Linked DNA regions of Homo sapiens: regions 1 and 2 are each linked to region 3. Evidence: promoter capture Hi-C in 16 types of primary human blood cells and fetal thymus (Javierre and others, 2016). All regions are on one chromosome and are shown on one strand. The core of a region is centred on a gene start or on the middle of the fragment in contact, and the rest is flanking DNA. Distances in the headings are between cores, read along the strand shown. Region 1 holds the start of LCA5 (lebercilin LCA5). Region 2 has its middle 11 kb from the start of BCKDHB. Region 3 holds the start of IBTK (inhibitor of Bruton tyrosine kinase).

Region 1 (3,165 bases), core at 479-2,978, 2.7 Mb after region 3:
AGGTCAAACTGATACTGTTATTTTGAATATGAGGGGGTGAATAAAATTGCACACTGTAAGAATCCTGAGACTATGTTACACACAACTAGACAATTTTTTGGATTCTCCCAGCGTCTTAAATATTTTCTTGCTTACCAACAACTTCTTAACCTGTAGGTGAAACACAATGAAGGCACTAAATCCGAAACCACGAAATTTGGAAGCAGACCTAGGCTTGTACTCTGGCATTACTACTTACTACTTTCGTACCTTGTGGTAGATACTTTAACTTCTCTGAATCTGCTTTCTCAAGTATAAACAATGAATAACAATACCTGTCTGGAGTCATGAATGAAGATGGAATGAGATTACACTGCCTGGAGCATTCTGAGTGCTGAATAAATGGTGGTTTCATTCTCAGCTCTCCTTCAGCAATCCTGATCTGACGCTCCTGTGACAGACATTTGTCCACGTAAATACGGTATGTTTTCTGATTCTTCCTAGCAACTTCCTTTATAAGTAATCCACCCATACATTTACATGTTAATTCTAACAGAGTCCATAATAACGAGTGAGCTATTTTAACAGTGTCAGCAGAGACAGATTAAAGAATTGATGAAAAGTAATTCCGTGCAATTTAGGGATTACTCATCTTATTTTCACTAACAGATGACTGCCATCTTGTACAGATGTATTTCGCATACAGAAAATTACATTTAATCACAATATTGTTTGGGTGGGTTAGTCTGTAACTTGAAGTAAAATGTATTGACAGGATAAAATGAAAGCTTTGAAACAGTGCAAAGGTGGAAAAACGAGGTTGAGCGAGAAGCAGGAATTACCAATCTTCATGGTTAGAAGATTCATTAAACGCATTTGCCTTCAAATATTAGATTCTCTACAGAATGGTGGTAAAAAGGCCAGTGAGAAATTAACAATAGTGAGAACACCAGAGTAGTGTTAAACCACCTTGATAATCAGATGGCTCGGAGCAGTTTAAAGCCCTCACGAAAGAGGATTTTTTTTTACCTTCCCTGTCTCCCGCAATTAATGCCATTTCTAAAAGAGAAAATATGTCACACATCAGCGCTCAATAGGCTGACATGCTCCTCAAAACGTTCCTTAAAAAAAAAAAAAAAAAAAAAAAAAAAAAAAAAAAACTTGTGTGCAAATATTTCAGATGCCATTCCACCCCAAACCCGTTCCAAAACCTAAAAATCACTTTCAAGCCAAACTCACGGCTCGTTGGTGATTCACAGCCAGGATCTCGAGGCAGGAACAATAGTGCACTCACCCCGCATCCTCCTGAATCAGCCATTTCGGTAAGAAGATCCAGAAGCACTAGCAGTTTGTTTGTAATTTGTTTACAATTTAAAAGCAAGTTATTTCCCAAAGGAAATCTAAGCAATTGTTAAGTGTTTTACATTACGCAGTCGCCAATTTTACAATTCATATCATGAACCCACTTTGCCCTCCGCCCGCGTCCCTCTCGGAGCCCACGACGCTCAGCAGTCGAGCCCTGGCACCGCACAGCCCGTAGGAGCCTGGAGCGCTCCGCGTTTTGCCCCAATTTCCCTACTTGGGGGTCTCCGCTACAGCTAGAGCGGTCGGCCAATGGAGACCTTCTCCCGCACTCGCCGTCCCGCCTTCCAGTTCCACTGAAGCCAATAAAAAGGGCCGTCTGGAGACAGAAGCCAATGGGAGCTCGGGTAGAGTCATCATGATTGGCTGCGGTCTCTTCGTAGTGCAGTCTAGGCCTCCGCCTCCGTTACCCTGGAGCCCAGGTTACCGCCGCTGCCACCCAGGAGCCCCGATCCTCGCCTCTGTCCCATCCTTGTGTTCAAACCTCCCGCATCTCGGCAACCTCGGCACCCGCCCGGCAGCCTCCGCAGGAACCAGGCACCCGCTCTTTGGCGGTCAGACGCCGAGGCCCCAGCTGGGAGTTTGGTCCTAAGAGGGAAGGCAAGGAGGCGGGACGCCGCATCGGCTCTGCTGAAGAGCCTGCGGGTTGGAGGTGGGCTTTGAAGTGGGCGTGGAGACGGCGGGGGAGGTGGAGGTGCGAGGTGAGGCTGGGTTGAAGCGTCTGGTAGCTAGTGAAGGGGCGTTCGTGGATGGGGGCCTGCGGGTGGTTCTTAAAGCAGGGAAGATGAAGGGATTAGGGATGGGGGAGGATGTAGGGACCGCGAGGAGAAGGAAGACCTAGGAAAATGAGTAAAGAGCTCGGCTTCTGAGAGGGTCCCGAGGAAGGGAGGTTGACCGGCACTGGGGGGACTGGGAAGTTAGGAGGAGAGGAGCTGGGAAAGGGTATTTACTTCCTGGGACCGAGAAGAGAAGAAAGGGAGCAAGCGGATCTAGAGAAGTGGTTGTTATTAAAACAAACAAAACAAAAACCCCGGAGGCCCGTGGAGACTCAAGACTAGAGAGGAGGGGCAGGGCCAAGGGCCAAGACGGAAAAGGAGGCTTTGGTAGCTCTCGGATAATAATAGATGTGTTATTATTAAAACTGTGGTTAGAGTGGAAAGCCGTACTTGTCCAGGCTGTGATACTTCTATACATCCTTCAGGGATGGGATGAGAGGAGTAAAGATGGTTAGAAATAAAAGAAAAAAGAAAGTGCCTTTTTGGCATACTCGAGTTGGAGTCGGTACTCAGATACGTGATGTTTACGTTAGATAGACCGTGGGATAGTGTTTAACAGTGAAGAGCCCTGGTCCAGTTCATCTGATATAAACCCCTTTTTTGTTCACTTTGTTCTTTGGAAAGTATACTTGGGCACATACATATTTATTCCCCTCCTTTATCTTCACGTTAAGAACTTGCATTAGAGATATCTTTGCAATCAGAAGTCATCATTTAGTTTTTGGCAGAGGGAGTGGCTATATGTGTTTTAGAATGGTAAAACCGATGTTTCCAGTTCTTTACTCATTCCCTCTTTCTTTTGCATGGTTATTTTAATCTATGTTTTTTTCCAGTTGTTCCACATTTAAATTCTATATTACCATTTTAAATATTTCACTTTGTGATTTCCCATGTTAGCTAGTATGTTTATCCAAATAAGTTATAGGAAATAATAGTTTGTTTTGATTCTCTAAGTTGACAAAGTATCATTTTAAATATCAAAAAGTAGTTTGTGACTTTGGAAAAGAGATTTTTCTTCTTTTGTGAGTCACATCTCTTCCGTTACACA
Region 2 (3,302 bases), core at 417-2,916, 2.2 Mb after region 3:
CATTTTATGATAATATTAACCTAATATTAAAATCAGATAAAGACACTATAAGAAAAGAAAACTACAAATATTCCTCATGAGGATAGATGCAAAAATCTTTAAAAAAGCAAATATAATAAAGCAATATATAAAAATAACAGTATAACAAGGCCAAATGGACATAAGAATTCATAGGAATGTAAGGTTGATTTAACATTTGAAAATCAAGCAATGCAATTCACCATATCAACAGACTGAAAAAGGAAAAAGTAATCATTTTAACAGAGGTAAATGGAAAAAGTAATCATTTTAACAGAGGTAAAAAAAGAACATAGACAATAAAAAGCAGAGATTGTTAAACTGGATGAAAAATCAAGATCCAAATAAATGCTGTCTACAGAAGACACACTTTAGATTCAAATACTTAAACGTAAAAGAATAGAAAGATATATCTTGCAAGCACCAGCCATGAGAAAGGTAGAGAGGCTATACTAATATTAGAAAAAAATAGACTTTAAAACAAAAATACGGTTTCTACAGATAAAGAAGGATACTTTTATGAAGACAAAAGGGTCAATTCATAAGGAAAATATAAGCAATTTTAAACATATATGCACCTAACAACAGAGTACCAACATACACGGAGCAAAAACTGACAGAAATGATGGGAGAAATGGACAATTCTACAACAATGGTTGGAACTACAATAACTCACTTTAATAGTGGGTAGAACAACGAGGCAGAAAATCAGCAAGGAAATGGAAGACTTAAACACACTGTAAACCAACTAGACCTAACAGGTATTTATAGAACACTCCACCTAAAAACACCAGACTATATGTTTTTCTCAGGTGTATATAGAACCTTCTCCAAGATACAGTATGTGTTAGGCCATAAAGTAAACCTCAATACATTTAAAATAATAGAAAGAGTTATGCATGGTGGTGTCCACCTATAGCCTTAGCTACTCAAGAGGCTGAGACAAGAGAATCACTTGAGCCCAGGATTTCAGGCTGTAGTACACTATGATTACACCTGTAAATAGCCACTGCACTCCAGCCTGTGCAATATTGTGAGACCCCATCTCTAAAACAAAAAGGAAAAAGAGAATAGAAATAATGCAAAGTATGTCCTCTGACCACAATGGAATAAAGAATTAAATTACAAATCAAATGGGTCAAAAAATAAATCAAAGGGAAATGATATGGTTTGGGTCTGTGTCCCAGCCCAAGTCTCTTGTCAAATTGTAATCCCAAATATTGGAGGTGGGGCCTGGTGGGAGGTGATTGGATTGTGGGGGCAGATTTCCCCCCATGGTGCTGTTCTTTCACGACAGTGAGTTATCACAAGATCTGGTTGTTTAAAAAGTGTGTAGCACCTCCCCCCATCTCTCTTCCTCCTGCTCTAGCCACATAAGATGTGCTGGCTTCCCTTCACCTTCTGCCATGATTGCAAGTTTCTTGAGGCCTCCCCGGCCATGCTTCCTGTACAGCCCGCAGAACTGTGAGCCAATTAAACCTCTTTTCTTTATGAATTACCCAGTCTCAGGTATTTCTTCATAAGAGTGTGACAACAGACTGATACAAGAAATTAGAAAATACTTACAGATGGATAAAAATGAAGATACAACATATTAAAACATATGTAACTAAAGTAGTGCTTAGAGGAAAATTTACAACTGTAAATGCCTGATTTAAAAAGAAGTAAGATCTCAAACCAATAACCCAAATTCCTGGCCTAAGACACCGGGGGGAAAAAAGAATAAACTAAGTCTAAAGCAATCAGAAGGAAGGAAACAAGAGCTAGGTTTTTTGAAAACATCAAAAAAAATCGACAAACTTTAAGCTAGATTGACCAAGAGAAAAAGAGAAGAATCAAATTACCAGACCAGAAATGAAAGAAAGGAAATGATTTTTAGATGAAAGGAGTGAAAAGGATCAAAAGCCATAAGTAGGTGAGGAAATATAAAAGGTATCATCTTTTTTCATGTCTTAATTCCATTAAAAGACAAATGAGTATTTAAAGTAAAAACTATAGGTGGATGTGGTGGTTCACTCTTATGATCCTAGTGCTTTGGGAGACTGAGGTGGAAGGTTTGCTTAAGCCCAGGAGTTCAAGACCAGCCTGGGCAACATAGCAAGACCCCATCTTTAAACAAAAATAAAAAAATAAAATAAATGAAGTAAAAATTATAACACTGTGTTGTGGGGTTTGTAATGTATTTACATGTAAAATATAAGACAATAATAGGATAAAGGGTGGAGTATAAATGGAATTATACTCTCCAAGGTTCTTACAGTTTGCATGAAGTAATATGATATTAAATCTAAGTAGAAGTGATACGTTAAGAATGAGACCCCTAGAGCAATAATTCCTTACAATTCCTACAGCAACCACTAAAAAGTCTTTCAAAGAGATATAACTAAAAGATATAACAAAAAGATAAAACTTAAAAGAGAAATTAAAATGGAATAAACATTCAGCCCCAAAGAAAGCAACTCTATTAAAGATTCTTCATAGGGTTGCTATATTCAAAGGATCATCTTGTAAAAGAAAACTGGCTGTACAAATAAGTTAGTGTAAATTAACTGTTATATGCTATAATAGACACAGTGAGATAAGTAATTGGTTTAGATACCAGCTCTGTTTCTAGCTGAATGACCTTGAGTGTATCATTTAACCCGTCAAGTCTCATGGAGAGAACATTAAAACTACCTAGAAGGATGTCATGATGACAAAATCACATGATACATACAAGTTACTTGTACATACCAATCGCTCAATAAGTATTTGTTGAATTAATTTACATGTGTAAACACATGTAAAAGATGTATATGTGCCAGTTCCAGAAGAAAAGTCTAGTAATATTAACTAGGATTGTTTTTATTAAGAATTCATAATTATGGAAGATGCCTTATCTCTCTGGAAAACAGAAGAAAACAAACCCCACCACCCGCCCAAAAAAGTCACAATTACGGATTGTAGTAACTTGGTCAAGACACCAGGTGGCATGAGATAATAAAAATTATTACCACTTGCTACTATTCTTCAGAATACAATTGTACAATGATTTGCATACTACATATTTAAGAAAAGTTGCAATTTAAATTTTCTAAATCAATGTACAGATTTCAAGGTGCCTTTTGATTAGTTCACTTTCCAATAGCAATTCCATTTCAGCCTTTCAGTGTATCTGCCTTTGCATCTGCCAAATAATAACAGGCCAAGCCCCACACATTGCATACATTATTTTATTTTATCTTCACTCTCCTAAGAGGCAGGTATTAACTCCAGTTTACGGATAAGAAAGCTGAAGCTCAGGG
Region 3 (3,293 bases), core at 1-2,500:
GTCTCGATCTCCTGACCTCGTGATCCGCCCGCCTCGGCCTCCCACATTGCTGGGATTACAGGCGTGAGCCACCGCGCCCGGCCAACTTAAGCTTATTTTCAAAACCACTCAATTTTGACATTACAAACTGGTTTTTGTTTTGTAGAAGGACATTAAGAATAAAGAGCAAAGAAACAATTATGTGCTGGGAAGGGCAGTAGGAGGGCTGGGTCCTAGTCTCCCTTTCTCTTTCGCTAAGCAGCTGTGTGGCTTTGGGCTAGTAACCTACCCTCCCACAAAAAAGGCTTCAAAAGAGAGCAAGCAGAGCTCAGTGGGCATTAAGACATGCGCAACTCCTTTCTTTTAGAGATTAGATGAGGTCGACTCAGTGGCTTGTAAAACTCAACGTGGCAGAGCTGTACAGCCAACTCATGATTCTTAGTGTCGTTTGTTTTGAGTCACACTACACCTCCTTGAACAATCATTTACTGAGTGCTTACCGTATTAGGCATTCAGCAGCAGTGTGTTTCCCATTCAGTAACCTAGTATTGATTATTGGCTACTGTCCCTCCTAGCATTTTTCACTTGACCACTTTCTAAATGGCCTTTAGATTCAGAGTTCAAGTGGAAAAAGCCTAGTGTAAGCCTGGTGTCAGGCAGTGAGTGGCGTGACCCGGGTCGGCAGCTAGTCCTACGGTGGTGATCTAAGAGGGCAGTGACGCCTTCTGACCAAGGGAGTGACTGCCAGATAATCCGGGTGTATGGAGATCCAGAGAGGGGTGAGGCTGGGTTTACGGAGACTACACCTTTGGCTTTGCAGTAACCCCACTGCTAAGGCCATGGGAGGAAACTCTTCTGTGCAGGACGCCTATGCACTTGGCTTCTGCTGCGTAGCGACCGGGTGTCCAAGGCATCCTGCCAGGTCTCCTTCTCCACTCGGGTTTAGCCTCCCCCGCGAGTCTCCAGCTACCTAGAGAGACGTTTCTAACTACGAGATGGCTGGCCTGAAAGGGACACTCCCATCACCGTTGTTGGCCTAGAGTTCCCCGCTGCGGCCTTTTTCTTTTCCCCGCCCCTGGCCTGAGTCAGCGGCCCCAAGGCCGGCGAGGTCAAGTTCCTTTGGGGCGCCAGGGAAAAGGCCATGGCAGAGGTGCTGCCACGCGAAACCTTCTGGGCAGGCACCAGCCAATCATCAAGAGACATACAGGAGCCCCAGCCAACCAGCGCCCGCCTTATTACTGGGAACCGCCCGCTCGGGCCCTTCCTCTACATCCCCGTTCCCGATTCCTGTAGTAGCGGCTGTATTGCAGCCGCCTGCCGAACTGACCCGGGTCTGGGGACTGGCCCCTCTGGCGCCGTTCGGTTTCTCTTATTGCCTTCACTGAGGATGAGTCCCTTTGTGGCTCTATGTGGACCCTGCGGAATCCACCGGCGCAGTTTCATCTAGCGACTGGTGAGGGAGGGCTTGGCGCTGCCCGACCGTGCGGTGCGGCTTCCCTTCAGCCCGGGGGCAGGGGGAGAGTATTCGCCTTCTGGAGGGTGCGGGTGGCTGCGGACGGCGGCGCGGGGGGACCGTGGGGAGGGGACTCTGTGGCCCCGAGGCTGCCGGGCTTCGCGCGAGGCGGCGCGGAGAGGGCCGAGTGGCCAGGGTCCCTACCGCCCCCCTCAGCTAATGAATGGCCTGTCCCGGCGATGCGCTACGCTCCCGTCCTGCTGGACACGCCCTCCAGCGACATTGCATTCCTAGTTGTGATAGTTATGTAGTGTCACTTTCCTTCGAGTCTTGGATTTGAAGCCATTCCTGTGGGCGCTCATGTTCCTTATCCCCTTCCTGGAGTCACAAGTTTGAGTCCACCCTGGGGATACTGACTCTGGGGAAGCAGGTCGTGAAATCTGATAAGTGGACATTGATTGCTATGTAAAAAGGAACTGATTCTTTTTGGAGGGTGGAGGGTTGAGAGAGACAGAGAAGACAGGCCCTTTGTTTTTGTAACAGGCAGAGCTGTCTGGCTCAAAGAGTTTTAGTTCAGCTGCGAATTAGGTAACATAGGCCGTCCTTGACTCCTGTTTTCCAACGTAGTTCATAAAACTTGACTGTGTTAGCCAGAGATTCATGTAGCACCTTTTAACTTATGCCTCGAAGTAGGCCATTTGAAATTTATCAGAAATACTGAAAGGATATGACTTTTATGAGTAGTAGTGTTTCAGTGCCCATAAAGTGGTGTAAATTCACAGGCTTGCCAGCCCCCTCTTGATCATTTCTCTTTTTGTATTTTGAATTCCTTAACTTTTATTTGTTTTAGAAATTGAGGCAAGGTAGATGAGGACAAAACTGGTTTCTAAAAATAATTACATTTGCAAATATTTGCAGAAGCTTTAGTCAAACCAGAGTTTACTTCAAGAAATTTTTTAGGCCGGGCGCGGTGGCTCACGCCTGTAATCCCAGCTACTGGGGAGGCTGAGAATTGCTTGAACCCGGGAGGTGGAGGTTGCAGTGAGCCGAGATCGCGCCGCTGCACTCCATCCTGGGCGACTGAGTGTGGCACCATCTCAAAAAAAAAAAAAAAAAAAAAGATGCCTGTAATCCCAGCAGTCTGGGAGGCCAAGGTGGGCGGATCACTTGAGGTCAGGAGTTCGAGGCCAACTTGGTGAAACCCCGTCTCTACCAAAAATACAAAAAAATCAGCCAGGCATGGTGATGTGTGCCTGTAATCCCAGCTACTCGGGAGGCTGAGGCAGAATCGCTTGAGTCTCCAGCTGCCCTACCAAACTGCTTTTGAATTCAATTATTTTGAATTGAATTCCATGGTACTTTTTTCTACTACACTATACTACTTGCATTGAAATTTTTCTAACTGCCTTTTGGGAGAGCAGTTTGGTAGCATAGAATAGGTGGGATCAAGAGCACTTTTCTGTCGGTATTATTTTAGGTAGGCTTTTTAAACTTTCACATGAATCTCCTCATCAGAAAATGAAAGTGATCATATTTACAGGGGCAATAATAAGGATTATATTTATGTAGAGCACTGTGTATAATGTATAAAACAAAATTTCACCTATAATTTTTGTGTGTTTTTTCCGTTGTTTAATTTTGTTTTGCTTTACTCACTTCCAAAGTATTGACCCCTTACTCTTCTTTCTAGTTTCCCTATCTGTTCTCCAAGCCAGAAACCTGGGAATTACCACCACATCTTGTCAATTCAAGATCCTAAGTATGTCTTTGGATTGCCTGCCCTTTTTTTTTTAAATCTCTAAGAAAAGGCACATAAGGCTGTTCAAAATCCTGTCTATCCTTGTGTGTATGTTAGGCCTCA

Evidence for each region. Contacts are between HindIII fragments. The CHiCAGO score rates a contact against its expected background, and 5 or more counts as called.
Region 1: the fragment with the promoter of LCA5 here is called in contact with the fragment with the promoter of IBTK in region 3 in 4 of 17 cell types (activated CD4 T cells, non-activated CD4 T cells, total B cells and 1 more); the score reaches 11.3 in activated CD4 T cells.
Region 2: a fragment that was not itself captured here is called in contact with the fragment with the promoter of IBTK in region 3 in 1 of 17 cell types (activated CD4 T cells); the score reaches 6.1 in activated CD4 T cells.

The regions. Positions count from the first base shown.
Region 1 is chr6:79,535,993-79,539,157 of GRCh38, reverse strand. LCA5 (lebercilin LCA5) reads left to right here and starts at 1,728. Exons shown (of 8, transcript NM_001122769.3): 1 at 1,728-1,993. It also overlaps a transcript of SH3BGRL2 not described here. RefSeq lists enhancers at 111-684, 1,215-1,264, 1,259-1,832. The HindIII fragment of the contact is 3,782 bases long and covers 770-3,165 here.
Region 2 is chr6:80,093,905-80,097,206 of GRCh38, reverse strand. No RefSeq gene overlaps it. Among named protein-coding and RNA genes, the nearest start is that of BCKDHB, 11 kb to the left of the region's middle. The HindIII fragment of the contact is 3,734 bases long and covers 1-3,302 here.
Region 3 is chr6:82,245,701-82,248,993 of GRCh38, reverse strand. IBTK (inhibitor of Bruton tyrosine kinase) reads left to right here and starts at 1,250. Exons shown (of 29, transcript NM_015525.4): 1 at 1,250-1,432. RefSeq lists a silencer at 1,448-1,617. The HindIII fragment of the contact is 2,262 bases long and covers 94-2,355 here.